2 separate regions of the Homo sapiens genome follow, and region 1 is linked to region 2. The links are contacts of gene promoters, found by promoter capture Hi-C in blood cells and fetal thymus (Javierre and others, 2016). All regions are on one chromosome and are shown on one strand. Each heading gives the region's core, a stretch centred on a gene start or on the middle of the fragment in contact. The rest is flanking DNA. Distances are from core to core; before and after follow the strand shown.

Region 1 (7,658 bases), core at 1,753-4,252, 110 kb before region 2:
TAGAGTCTTGGGGAGAATGATGATCTTGGGGAAAAAATATTGTGAGGAGTAAAAATTTATAGGAATCTGTAAAAAAAAAAAATTGAGTTACGGCTGTAGTCAAAATCTGTTGATATTTTCTAATAAGCCCTGAATAGTTCATAATAGCCGCAGAAAAAGAAGCTTGCTTGATCCATGATAGAGGTTGACATGGGATGTGTGTCTTGGAAGAATATTCATGATATTGATGGATTTTGGTAGTGCTCTATGGGTTTTGGCCTGATAGGAGAGGTGGGTTGGGAAAGTGGTAATCAGCTGAGAGAAAAAGGAGTCTTGAGGAGCCTAGAGATAGTTAACTTATTGGTGTTTACCAAGTATATTTCAAGCCAACATCCTAGTTATTTTCTCACCCATAGTCTACTTTAGTCTACTTGGGAGAAAACCTAGGATAATAGGATTTTAAAAGAAGTTATTGTACTTCAAATATGCCACATAAAGTATTATTTTTAAAACAGTTTCTGTCAGAACAACATTTATGCTTTTAAGGATGGGATTAGATCTGATTATATTTTTGTGTTTGTAGTGCTATATAAATTGGCATCAGCTGAGTCTTCTAATGCATTCATAAATTGTGTTCATTTGTTAGAGACAAAAAGAAAGAAGACAAAGAAAAGAAACGTTCTAAAACACCACCAAAAAGTTACAGCACAGCCAGACGTTCTAGAAGTGCAAGCAGGTAAGGTGGCATTGTGAATTCTTGGCAATTATTTTTTTAACTTTGCTTCTAACAGTATCAGTACGCTGTCAGTATGAAGTCTTTTCCAGAACATAAGTATTTCAGTGTTGAAAAAAGTTACATTTTGCTGTTATTTAAAGTTTTTAAAAGGCAATTTGTGAAGAATAATGTAGTTTATTTTTCTTTTTACTTAATATTTTATGGTCTAGAGTATATTTGAAGTAACATGGAATTCAAGAGAGGTGAGTTTTTCTCTTTATAGTTTAAGTTTTAATGGCTAAACCATACTGAATTGTTCCATTAAGTAAGCTTATTATAGTAAGCTATATTTATCATCTGCATGTTAGTACTTGAGAATTTTTCTATCCCTTTTAATGACTGTTGAATTAATGGGAAGCAATGCAGGTTCTGGTTTGTGTCATTCTTAGACTAATTCTATCTTTAAGCTGTCAGTGAAAATTGAAATGTTGCAGACCTTACTGCACAAAAAGCACATTTTCATACTTAATTTGGGATTTATATGATAGTAAGGGCTGGACTTCATTCCATTTTTCAGATCTCATTCACATGTTTTGCTGCAGTGCTTGTTTTATTCATCAACATTACTTAAATTCACTAGGAGAAGGTTCATGCCATATAAAAAAAAATAACTGAAATGTATAAAAGACCTAAATGTAAGAGCCAAAACTATAAAACCTTTAGAAAGAAACAAAAGTGAATCTTTAAGACCATGAGCTTGGTGGTTTCCTAGATATGACTTCAAAAGCATAAGCAACAGAAGAAAAGAAAATTTTGGAATTCACCAAAAGTTAAAACATTTGTATTTCAAAGGATACTATCAAGAAAGTAAAAACCTAGAGTGCTAGTTAGAAAATTCTTTATATATTCTCTATTAAGAACTCTTAGAACTCAGCAATAGACAGGCAACCCAATTTAAAAATGGCAAAGAATCTGTAGCCATTACTCCAAAGGAGATATGCAAATATCTAGTAAGTACATAAAATCTGTTCAACATCATTAGTCACCAAGGAAATACAAACCAGACCACAGTGAGATATGTCACAGTCACTAGGATGGTTATAAATCAAAAAGACAGATGATAGCTGAGCCTGACAGATGATAGTAAGTGTTGATTAGGATGTGGAGAAATTAGAACCCTGTGCATTGCTAGTATGAATATAAACTGGTACAGGTGTTTTAGAAAACAGTCTGGCATTTCCTAAAAATGTTAAACATAGAGGTTTTTGACCCACCAGTTGTACCCCTGGGGGAAAATGAAAACATTTTCACAGAAAAACTTTTATGTGAATGTTTGTGGCATTATTTCATAATAGCCAAAAAGTTAACTATCCATTAACAAATGGATAAACAGAATGGTATATCTATACAATTGAATATTTTTCAGTGATAAATAAGGTTGATACATGCTACAGTATGGATGAAACTTGCAAACATCCATGAAAGGCCGTGTATTGCGTGATTCCTTTTATATGAAATGCCCAGAATAGGCAAATCTATAAAGATACCAAGTAGATTACTGATTGCTGGGGAGATAGGGAGGATTAGAGTGATAACTAAAGGGTAGGGAGTTTTTGGGGTGGTGAAAATTTTCTTAAAAACTAAATTTTTAAGCATGAAAATGAAACCAAATGTAAGTACAGAAGGAAATGCTGAATCAGGCCTGAGGGATAGGTGGCAAAGAGATAGAAAAGATGGAAGGTACTACATATATTTTCTTACCTTAAAAACTGTTGAGGATTTTTTTTTTTACCTGTTGCTTTATATAATGTACTTGTAAGTGCCTTCTCATGCTGTATTATTGGATCACTCTAAATTAAGGCATCTTCTGTGAGTTATTAAATACCCACTGTGTTTGTAGTTGTGCTACAGTCTGTTGAAGGACACGGAAATGTAATATAAAATACTTCTTCCGTCTAGAGAATTTGGAGTTTCAGTTACATAAGACAGTAGCAAAAAGTATAAGGTGCACAGTCGTGACAATGTTTGATAAGTGAATGCTCAGTTATGTGTAACGTTTCCAGGACAAGGGTCACAGAGGGCTGTGTAAGTAGAAAAAAAGCTTCATTTGGAAATTAGACAACTAAGTACAGGGTTTTTTAAGTCTGATAACTTTTGAGAATCAGGAACAGAATTTTTTTTTTTAAGTTACAGTAAAAAGGAGGGGAAGGCTGTATATCAGCTGTATATCTTCAAAGTAATTGGTGAAAGCAGGGTTTTGGGGGACTGCAGGAGGGCGATTTTGCTAGAGTATAAGGTTTCTACCTTTCCACTAACTAGTTCTCTGAATTTCATCTAATGATTTAAAGGTGAATGTGGGGATATTTTATTAGTAACTACCTTCTATATCACATTATTGAATTATTCTGTACTTACTCTGAACACTGAATGTTTGAACCAAAAACTAACTTCTTCAGTAATAGTTTACTTCACACGTCACCCCTCTCGCATTAGTTTTGTTAAATCAGTTTTTTCTCAAGCTTAGTATTTCTAACATTTTGTCATCAATTAAAAGAATTACTAGAAATTAGGAGTTTTCTTGAGGGTAGTAAAGGGAAAGATTCATGGTTTGCAGATGATTATATTACTCATTTAATTGTTTAGCTTATACCAGTATTGTGAAACAATCTTTCATTTTTCTGTTTTTTTGAGACAGGGTCTCTCTCTGTTGCCCAGGCTGGAGTGCAGTGGCCCTATCACAACTCACTCCAGCTTCAACCTCCGCAGGCTCAAGTGATCTTCCTGCCTCTGCCTCCTGAGTAGCTGGGACTACAGGCATGCACCACCACACCTGGCTAATTTTTTTGTATTTTTTGTAGAGACAGAGTTTCACCATGTTGCCCAGGCTGGTCTGGAACTCCTGGGCTCAAGCAATCCCCTCACCTCAGCCTGCCAAAGTGCTGGGATTATAGGCATGAGCCACTACATCTGGCCACATCTTTCATTGTTAGAATCATCTATGATGTGTCTGCATTTTTAAGATCACACTGTATTTTAAAACCTAGTTTGCACATTTGTGATTCTAGAGAGAGACGACGACGAAGAAGCAGGAGTGGCACAAGATCTCCTAAAAAGCCTCGGTCTCCTAAAAGAAAATTGTCCCGCTCACCATCCCCTAGGAGGTAAGAATGTTAATCATTTAAATGTATTTTTTATATTTTTCAGAGGTTTTTCATTTTAAAACTGTCCTGTAGTTTTTCTTTTCAGCAGTTACAGTTCTTAAGAATGTTTTAATGTATTCTCCTTCTGACTTGTGACTTAAACACCATTAAGGACTGAACATTTTAGTCCTATAAACAAGTTAGTTTTGTAGCCTGTGTTACTTCTCCAAGGTTTTGAAGTTGGATCTTTGCTGTACTACTTATATCCTGTGAAATTGAGTCAGGCTCATCATCTAAACAAGTTAAACCTGTTGCTGTACATTTTACTGTCATTCTAGACATAAAAAGGAGAAGAAGAAAGATAAAGACAAAGAAAGAAGTAGGGATGAAAGAGAACGATCAACAAGCAAGAAGAAGAAGAGTAAAGATAAGGAAAAGGACCGGGAAAGAAAATCAGAGAGTGATAAAGATGTAAAAGTATGTTTACAAATTGATTTATTTTTATATTTGGGGTGATGTTGGTACTTTCAGAAGTTATTTTTCTTTGGAGAAGTTTACTTTTATTATTCTCCTTGGCAAAGCAGGTTACACGGGATTATGATGAAGAGGAACAGGGGTATGACAGTGAGAAAGAGAAAAAAGAAGAGAAGAAACCAATAGAAACAGGTTCCCCTAAAACAAAGGAATGTTCTGTGGAAAAGGGAACTGGTGATTCACTAAGAGAATCCAAAGTGAATGGGGATGATCATCATGAAGAAGACATGGATATGAGTGACTGAATATTGCCTCTGAGGGAGTCCAACTGTATACCTGCATCAGTGTCATTCCTTTGTGTGATTTCTTAATGCTGTATTTGTTCATCTCAAACCTAGATGTATACAGCTCTGAGTTATAAATGGTTATAAAGCTCCTGTTACTCATATTAGTTATTTACATCAAAAAGCTTTTAGAAAATGGTACGAGGTAACCAATTCTTGTCATGGTGAAATCTGATTGAGTAACCAAGCAGTTTTACTATTCTGGTGCTGCTTCATAACAAAAATGAAAAGCTGCATGCATCTACAGCAGGCATGGATTGTTTATGTCGTATGATATCCTTTATTAAGTAAGTTCACTTATAGTATTTCTATAATTTGATTCATTGCCGTAATAGAGCCATGTAGGAAATGCACTGATTGCATGTTATTGTGGCAAGAATATCCTAAATGTCATTAAAATCCTCCAACATGATGGATCTACTTATGGTCTTGTTTGTTGACATGACAAATTAACATTCTTATAGTTACATCTGGAAATGAGCATTTGAAATAGATAATCCTTTAAGCCTTGTGGCAAAATTTTTGTGGCTTTTGTTTAACTTTGAAAGGTTATTATGCACTAACCTTTTTTGGTGGCTAATTAGGGTTTAAATACAGAAACAAGATTTCAAATAAAACTGTCTTTGGCAGTGAGTAAATAGCATATTTTGAAGTAGAGTTGTATACTTTTTCATAAGATGTTTGGGAATTTTTTTCCTGAAGTAATAATTTATTCCACATCTACATCAGTGAAAGCTATCTACCTATCCTGAGTCTATCTTAAAGGAAAAAAAGAAAAAAACCTTATCTCTTGCCCTTATTTTGAATTTTCCACTCTTTCATTAATTTGTTTTAAGCTCCGTGTTGGAAAAAAGGGGTAGTGCATTTTAAATTGACCTTCATACGCTTTTAAAATAAGACAAATCTACTTGATAATGTACCTTTATTTGATCTCAAGTTGTATAAAACCAATAAATTTGTGTTACTGCAGTAGTAATCTTATGCACACGGTGATTTCATGTTATATATGCAAAGTAGGCAACTGTTTTCTTAGTTACAGAAGTTTCAAGCTTCACTTTTGTGCAGTAGAAACAAAAGTAGGCTACAGTCTGTGCCATGTTGATGTACAGTTTCTGAAATTGTTTTACAAGACTTTGATAATAAAACCCTTAAACTTATGTTCATGTTCCTGTAAAACCGTATTTGTATTTATTTACGCTACTGAATGTATGACATTTACCTCATTCATTTTACAAATTCTTTCCCTTTCTGTCCACATATTTCAGTATAGTAAAAAGAGGAAGTCTATCACTGTAGTGATAATTGCCATCAAAATTGTCAAAAATGATTTAATTTCTATCCAAAATAGTCCTTTTCTTAGCTTAGTATCATTTTATTGCTTATTTTTTGTGTGGGAATGGGGTTGGATAAAGCAATGAACTTTAGTATAAACAAATCCCACCTATATCTAGCAAATTTATATTTTCGGTGAAATACAGATATTTGCCTTTCTGGAGTAGTATAGAAGCTGTCAATATGTATCTACTGTACAGTACTAAATAGTATTCATTTATGAAATGAGTAGTGTTTGGGTGGCTGGGGTTAAGGGAAAATGAGACTTGGAATTGTAGCTTTTATCCAAGTTTTGAGTATAAATAGGGTTTTGTTTTGTTTTTTTTAACCTAAAAACTGAAATGCCATATAGAAAAACAGCATTGTTTTTACAGTTTGTAGTAAGTAACTTTTTAAAGATTTTATCAAAAAGAATTGTCTATAGTGAGTAAAAGAAGTTCTAATAATGGTCCTAATCACTGCATTTTTAAAAAACAAAGTTCAACACAAATGACATTTGTTTTAAACTTTAGTAGATAAAAGGTGAACCATGTGACATGGGCATTTTTGTAAGTCAAAAACAAATTTCACATATGGTAAACCTAATATTCACAGTGTGTTCCCTCACTTGTAATCTCTGAATACAAATATACTAGCTTTTCTAAAGGGAATCATTTTTTTAAAAGTAGTGCCACTGACAAGATGCTACAGTGAAGATTATCCATTCTTAGGATATTTATTTTCAGTGAACATTTTCTGCACAAAGGTAGTGTTGCACTGGGACACAAGCCTTTTAACAGATAACCAGTTGAAATCAAACACTGCCTCCACACCGAGTTCTGTTGTGTATTTGATAGTAAATTGATTTAAAAATAAAAGTGGTTTTTGTTAGAAAAATGTTTTGTCCTTATTTATTTGCTTAAATCCTTTAGGAGTGAACGAGAGGTGGTAGCTATACAATGAGCTTTTTTAAATGGAAAGATAAGAGTCCAGTCATGCATTTGGTCTTTATTTCATAGAGCTGGAGATAACTGTGTTCCTTACCTTCAGTTTCCTACGGGTAAAATGGAAGTGATTGCTACCTTGCAAAGTACAGACATACCTCGGAGGTATTGTGGGTTTAGTTCCAGACTACAATAAAGCAGTTCATGAATTTTTTTGGCTTCCCAGTGCATATAAAAGTTGTTGGCTGGGCACTATGGCTCATGCCTGTAATCCCAACACTTTGGGAGGCCAAGGCAGGAGTGCTTGAGCCCAGGACCAGCCTAGGCAACATAGCAAGACACTGTCTACAAAAAAATAAATAGCCAGGTGTGGTGGTGCACACCTGTAGTTCTAGCTACTGTGGAGGTTGAGGCAGGAGGATCACTTTGAACCCAAGGAGTTGGGGCTGCAGTGAACTATGATCATGCCACTGCGCTCCAGGTTGGGTAATAGCAAGACCCCATCTGTATCTGTAAAACAGTAATTTTTAAAATGTAGCCTTTGGTGCCTGGGACATTAAATGATAGCTGCTATTTGATTATGGGGCCCTTAAAAGTTATGTAACTAATAATTTGTGTAGGGGGTAATGTTAAAAGCACAAAATAAATTGCATACCTTTTATTGAAAAGGCTGTGTTGCCCTTAACTGTTTTCATGAAGATGGATCTTAGGTAAGTTTCCTCGTGGCAATTCTATACATGGAAGACAGAAA
Region 2 (7,250 bases), core at 733-3,232:
CAGCCTCCCAAGTGCTGGGACTACAGGGCCCAGCTAATTTTTGTATTTTTTTGTAGAGACTGGGTTTGGCCATGTCACCCAGGCTAGTCTCAAACTCCTGGACTCAAGCCATCTACCCACCTCGGCTTCCTGAAGTGTTGGGATTACAGGTGTGAGCTACTGCCCCCAGCCCATTCATTATTATTATTATTTTTTATAGAGGCCGTGTCTCACTATGTTGGTCAGGCTGGTCTTGAACTCCTGGGCCCAGGTGATCCTTCCACCTCAGCCTCCCAAAGTGCTGAGATGACAGGTGTGAGCCACTGCACTTGGCCCCATCCATTATTTTTAAGGGCTTGTAAAAATGACAGAAATGTAAGATTACAATATATTATAAAAAAGATAGAAATATGATTGTAATACATTATGAAAAATACAAGGATTGAAATTATATAAGCTCCCAATACAATATAGAAAAGGAAGTCATTAATTCTATTTGGGGAAAATAGAAATTGGATGATCAGAAAAGCTTTCTGGGGCTGGGCGTGGTAGCTCATGCCTGTAATCCCAGCACTTTGGAAGGCCGAGGTGGGCAAGTCACTTGAGGTCAGGAGTTCAAGATCAGCCTGACCAACATGGTGAAACCCCATTTCTACTGAAAAATACAAAAAGAATCAGCCAGGCATGGTGACGTCTGCTTGTAGTCCCAGCTGCTCGGGAGGCTGAGGCAGGAGAATGGCTTGAACCCAGGAGGCAAAGGTTGCAGTGAGATTGCACCACTGCACACCAGCCTGGGCGATAGAGCGAGACTCTGTCTAAAAAAATAAATAAATAAATAAAAGAATTACATCAAATTTTATCCCTTCTTAGCACAAATTTTTTTTTAACTTGGCATAGAATTCAGAGCCAGGAAATTGTGTTGAACTAACTTTCCAAATAAAATTTAGCATGTCATTCTATTATGAACGTATGCCACAAACCACAATAGTATTAGCATTAGTAGTACCTGTGACTTCACAACCAAAAAAACCACAGGTATTTTCATTTCACATAACAGTTGCTGCAGACAACTCAAAATTTCATTTATAGTCATTAGTACCTCTAAAATTATCTTAATAGGTATGCTCATTGCTATATCTTGTTCTTTAATTAGTTAATAAAGAAGCATATACATTACTGTATTACAAATTTGCTTTTAAAATATTTTGTTAGGTATTTCAATACTCAGAGTTTCCTTTTAATCCAAAATATTTTATGCATTTAAAAACACTGTTCTGAAAATGGGTCCCTGGGTTTCTCCACACTGCCAAAGAGTCAATGGCACAAAAACAGAAGTTAGGAACTTCTTCTTAGGAATCTTTGATGATACCTGCCCATTCGTCTCCTTTTCTCTCCTATCCAACAAACCCATCGTTCTGAATTAGGTGTCCCTCCTTTGTCTTCTTTTTGATTTCCCATTGTAACTTCTGCATGCCTCCTTGATATTCTTGTCTGGTCTCAACTAATCCTTGGAGCTCTCTGAGCACTGGAATCATGCTGATCATTGCTGTATGCACAGTGCCCTACAGGGAGTGAATGCTTATATTAATAATAAGCAGTTGTTGAATTAATCAGTCTATTAGAACACAAAACCCCAAGTATCTACAAGGTACTAAGACAACTGCAGACTCAGTAATGAGATGCTAAATAAACTTCTTAAATAATCCCAATATAACTACACTGAAATTAGCTGCTACACTCTTGAATTCTTACATGAAGCCAAAGAGTAGATATATCATTTAGGACTTTTTGTTTTTCATGTAGAAGTAACAATAAATTCAATTGAAACAGGGTTAAATTAAAGGAATGTATTGACTTACATACCAGAAAGGTGCAGAGATAAGTCTTCAAGAGTGGCCCCTCAGGATCCCATGTCAGTTTTTCAGTGAATCTCTCGGTGTTTCTCTCTGTATGAGGAGTCCTCCTCAGGCCTGCTTCCTTCAAGAACACAAGATAACTGCCAGCAGGTAAAAGCAGCCACGTGCTTCCTCCTTAAGGTCCAAAGGAGTTCCTGCTCCCACATAAATCTGGAGTATGACAGTTACAAGATAACTCAGTCCAATCTGTGTCCCAGAGAACGGTGATTGGCTCAAGCCTGGGTTATCTGACAAACCCCTGTGAAGGAGGGGTTACTCAGATTAGTTTCACCCAATCAGGATTGATCTCGGAGCCGGAGGTGGGGCCCAGCTCTCCAAACAGTGAACTGTTTCATAATGGGAATGAGGTGGGGAATAATGTTGGAGAGACAAATGCAAGAGTGGTCAGCAAAAGTACTATATCCAAAGACTTAAAACAGGATTTTGCTTCAAAAAAATCTGTTATCACAGTGTCTTGAATTCAATATGATAAAATATGTAGTGATTATCAATTATATCAATATGTAATGAGTAAATAACTTCACTGGTAAACACTGTATTTACTTTTTATTCAAATTTTACAAGATAGAATGCAATCCATCAATTCAAGTATAGAACTAAACTACTGGCCAGGCGCAGTGGCTCACGCCTGTAATCCCAGCACTTTGGGAGGCTGAGGCGGGTGGATCACCTGAGGCCAGGAGTTCGAGACCAGCCTGGCCAACATGGCGAAACCCCGTCTCTACTAAAAATACAAAAATTAGCCGGACGTGGTGGTGGACCCCTATAATCCAAGCTACCTGGGAGGCTGAGGCAGGAGAATCGCTTGAACCTGGGAGGCAGAGGTTGCAGTGAGCCGAGATTGTGCCATTGCACTCCTGCCTGGGCAACAGAGCTAGACTCCATGCCAAAAGGAAAAAAAAAAAAACCCTGAGAACTAAACTACTGAATTTGCTAGGTAATACTCTGTAGTTCTACAAATTAGCAAATTAATTTCTCTCCTGGTGTAGTTAACTCAATAATGCTCAATTTGCCTTGAATAGCAAAAAGCTTCTGAAAAATGAATGTTTTTCAACTTTTTCTAATGAGAGTTTTGTTAGATAGTTATGTGCTCACCAACACCAAACACTGACTAGACAGTTAAATCTGTCTCTAAGAAAGAACGTTGTGAATTTTGCCAGAAATTTATGTATCTCTATTAGCCCTACACAAAGCACCTAATCCCTGTCCTGGTGTCTTCATTTAACAAAAGCAGTAGTATGGTAACATGAAATACAGAACAGCAGTACTGTACAAAATAAAATCTCACTCGTTATATTTTTTAAATATATCAACAGACTTCCAATTAGGATCTGTAGTTACTAACCTTACTCAATTCTCATTGCATTGCATACTAATAATGTTTCTAATGTAAATATTAGTGCAAGTTTAGTCTACATCTTTTTTCTTTCATCTTCTCTGAAGATTTGTGTTTTATATTCTCACAATAATCTGGAATATGATTTCCTACATTCCACAATGGTTGAACAAGATCTAGGAGTATTTTGTTTGATAGATGATAGGGCTATCTAACTAATGAGGTAATTGTCTCTGAAATCTGACGACACAGCAGTACACTGACAGATGAAAATAACAAACCATGTAAATCAATACTTAATTCACACATTTTACTTCCATCTCCCTGGGTCTCAGTATTTTTCTCTTTCCTCTAAATCTGCCCCCTTCCTTTCTCAGAGGCAATGCAGAGCACTTTCCCTTTCTTCTACGGTTTCTGATCAGTGGTTATCAGTGATTTTGTAAAATTTCTCTTAAGTAATCAGAAAAAAAATCTGAGAAGCAGGGGTTGCCAAGGAAACCAGAGCCAATAACAGCTGGAAGTTCCTGAAGGAAGAAATTCCTTTGAGACAGATAAAACCTACAGACTGATTTGGAGGAAGAAGGAGAAAAAATGCCAGGAGCACAGTGAAAGGCTGAGTCAATGAGATGAAAAGGAAAAGATAAAGTGAAACATTCATAATTAAAATTATTTTTAGATCGACAAAGGCTAGAAACAAGAGAATTAGAACAGAGACAGGAATGGGTTTTTTAGTGAAAGAAGAGGTTAAGACACAATGGGTAGGCCCAACACTTTGGAAGACCGAGGCAGGCGGATCACTTGGGGCCAGGAGTTCGAGACCAGACTGGCCAACATGACGAAAACCCATCTCTACTAAAAATATAAAAATTAGCCAGGCTTGGTGGTACATGCCTATAATCCCAGTTACTACAGAGGCCGAGCAGGAGAAATGCTTGAACCTGGCAAGCGGAGGTTACAGTGAGCCGAGATCCAGCCTGGGTGACAGGGCAAGACTGTCTCAAAAAAAAAAAAAAGGCACAATGGGTAGTGTGTAAGAGATTAAATGGTATAGATAGACAAGGGTCAGTACATGTGTCCATAGCTTCCTGAATATGTTTTATTTTAAATTACTTTATTGCTCAGAATATATGTAACTACATCTGTATCTGTAGTCTAAATACTCCGGGCTGGGCGCAGTGGCTCACGCCTATAATCCTAGCACTTGGGGAGGCCGAGGCGGGTGGATCACCTGTGGTCAGGAGTTCGAGACCAGCCTGGCCAACATGGCCAAACCCCATATTGTATTTTTAGTCTCTCCTAAAAATACAAAAATTAGCTGGGCGTGGTGGCAGGCGCTTGTAATCCCAGCTACTCGGAAGGCTGAGGCAGGAGAATCACTTTTACCTGGGGGCAGAGGTTGCGGTAAGCCGAGATCATGCCACTGCCCTCCAGCCTGGGTGACAGAGCAAGACTCCATCTCAAAAATAAAATAAAATAAAAATTCCTCAAGAACAACTAACTCAAAACTTCCAAAATGAAACTCATCTCCATCAGCAATCTCACTGACCAAATCCATATTTCACTTCTCATTACCTTTGACTCCTCCCTTGCCATGAGGCAGGAAAATAGGGTCTGGAGGCAGGGAACACAAGGCCAATTCACACTTCAGCTATGACAGGAAATATCCTCTCTATGAGATGTATGCTGTAAATAACTTTGTAATTTTACTTCATCCTCTCCATTTACATAGGGTGTAACACAAGTAACCAATGGAATCCTCTAGGGGGTATTTACACTCCCCAAAAAATCTGTAACAGGTCCTTTGAACCCCTATGCTGCTCCCACGCTGTGGAGTGTACTTTCATTTTCAATAAAACCCTTCATTCTTCCTTGCTTTGTTTGTGCGTTTTGTCCAATTCTTTGTTCAAGATGCCAAGAACCTGGACCCCCTCCACTGTTAACAGCCATAAACCCCACATTCAGCCAGTCACAAAATCTTGACCTTTCTACCTACTGCAGAGCTCTAAAATGGAACTCTTTCTCTTGATTTTTCCACTGCCGATGAAGAGTCAAACTCTGTCAAATATTTGAAGAGATTTCTTCTGAATCAAATATGAGGACAGCCCTCAGGAGGTCCTGAGAACATGTGCCCCAGGTAGTCGGGTGCAGCTTAGTTTTATACATTTTAGGGAGGCACGAGACATTAACCAAACACATTTAAGAAATACATTGGTTTGGTCCAGAAAGGCAGAACAACTTGAGGTGGTGAGGGAGACTTCAGGCTATCGGTAAATTTATTTGTTTTTGTTTTGTTTTGTTTTGTTTTGTTTGAGACGAGTCTCCCTGGGACATCCAGGCTGGAGTACAATGGTATCTCGGCTCACTGCAACCTCAGCTTCTTGGGTTCAAGCAATTCTCCTGCCTCAGCCTCCCGAATAGCTGGGACTACAGGCGTGTGCCACCATGCCTGGCTAATTTTTATATTTTCAGTAGAGACGGGGTTTCACCATATTGGCCAGGCTGTTCTTGAACTCCTGACCTCAAGTGATCCGCCTGCCTTGGCCTCCCAAAGTGCTGGGATTACAGGCCTGAGTCACTGCGCCCGGCTTATAGGTATATTTAAACATTTTCTGGTTGATAATTGGTTGAGTTTGTCTAAAGACCTAGAATTAACAGAAAGGAATGTCTGGCTTAAGATAAAGGATGATGGAGACCCGAGTTCTTATTTGCAGAGGAAGCCTTCAAGTATAGGCTTCAGAGAGAAGAGAATGTAAAATGTTTCTTATCAGACTTAAAGTCTGTGCTGATGTTAATGATGAAGAGGTATAATGAGGCATGTTCGACCACCACTTCCCATCAGGACCTGAAACAGTCTCTGCAGTTAAATTTTAAAAGAGCCGTGAATGAGGAGGAAGTCCATTCAGATAGACGGTTGGAAGGGGGATCTTAGAATTTTATTTTTGGTTTATACCACTAGCCATATTTGGGTTCAGGCTACTATCACTTGAAACTGTCTCCTAACTGATCTGTGACTCCCATTTCCCACCTGTGCTTGCACACACAAAACCTCACATCACTCACCCCTTGGATTGCCAGATGTATCAAATAAAATTACAGGACACCCAGTTAAATTTAAAGTTCAAATATACAACAACTTTTTAGTATAAGTGTATCCCAAATAGGACAGGGATATTTGTAATACTTGAGGTATTGTCCCATGCAATATTTGGGATGTACTTACACTTAAAAAAAAAAAATATTGGTGTTGACCAGGCACAGTGGCTCATGCCTGTAATACCAGTACTTTGGGAGGCCAAGGTGGGTGGATCACGAGGTCGGGAGATCGAGACCATCCTGGCTAACACAGTGAAACCTCGTCTCTACTAAAAAATACAAAAAATTAGCCGGGCCTGGTGGCGGGCGCCTGTAGTCTCAGCTACTCGGGAGGCTGAGGCAAGAGAATGGCATGAACCTGGGAGGCGGAGCTTGCAGTGAGCTGAGATGGCGCCACTGCACTCCAGCCTGGGCGACAGAGCAAGACTCCATCTCAAAAAAAAAAAAAAAAAAAAATTGTTGTTTATCTGAAATTCACATTTACCTGGGCACTTCTGTAAACCAAAAATAAAATTGTAAAGCCCCCCAATCATCTGAATGGACTTCCTCCATGGCCAGGGAGCTCCTAAAATTTAACCTGAGAGGCTGGGTGCAGTGGCTCACATCTGTAATCCCAGCGCTTTGGGAGGCCGAGGCGGGCGGATCACCTGAGGTCAGGAGTTCAAGACCAGCCTGGACAACATGGTGAAACCCCGTTTCTACTAAAAACACAAAAATTAGCTGAGCATGGTGGCAGGCACCTGTAACCCCAGCCACTTAGAAGGCTGAGGCAGGAGAATCGCTTGAATCCAGGAGGTGGAGGTTGCAGTGAGTTCAGATTGTGTCATTGCTCTCCAGCCTGGGTAACAAGAGTGAAATTCCGTCTCAAAAAAAGAAAAAAAAAAATTAACCTTAGAGATTGCTTGAGGCCATGATGAGAAGTGGGG

Evidence for each region. Contacts are between HindIII fragments. The CHiCAGO score rates a contact against its expected background, and 5 or more counts as called.
Region 1: a contact is called between a fragment that was not itself captured here and the fragment with the promoter of LINC03102 in region 2, in 1 of 17 cell types (naive CD8 T cells). The highest score is 5.4, in naive CD8 T cells.

Annotation. Positions count from the first base shown.
Region 1 is chr1:70,246,193-70,253,850 of GRCh38, forward strand. SRSF11 (serine and arginine rich splicing factor 11) reads left to right here. Exons shown (of 12, transcript NM_001350605.2): 9 at 626-715; 10 at 3,760-3,855; 11 at 4,173-4,311; 12 at 4,416-6,860. The coding sequence ends at 4,613. Among named protein-coding and RNA genes, the nearest start is that of SRSF11, 29 kb to the left of the region's middle. The HindIII fragment of the contact is 418 bases long and covers 2,794-3,211 here.
Region 2 is chr1:70,358,455-70,365,704 of GRCh38, forward strand. It overlaps LINC03102 (long intergenic non-protein coding RNA 3102), which reads right to left and starts at 1,983. Exons shown (of 2, transcript NR_183713.1): 1 at 1,843-1,983; 2 at 1,105-1,541. The region is part of intron 1 of ANKRD13C-DT (ANKRD13C divergent transcript); the gene reads left to right. RefSeq lists an enhancer at 619-678 and a silencer at 1,915-2,108. The HindIII fragment of the contact is 2,416 bases long and covers 507-2,922 here.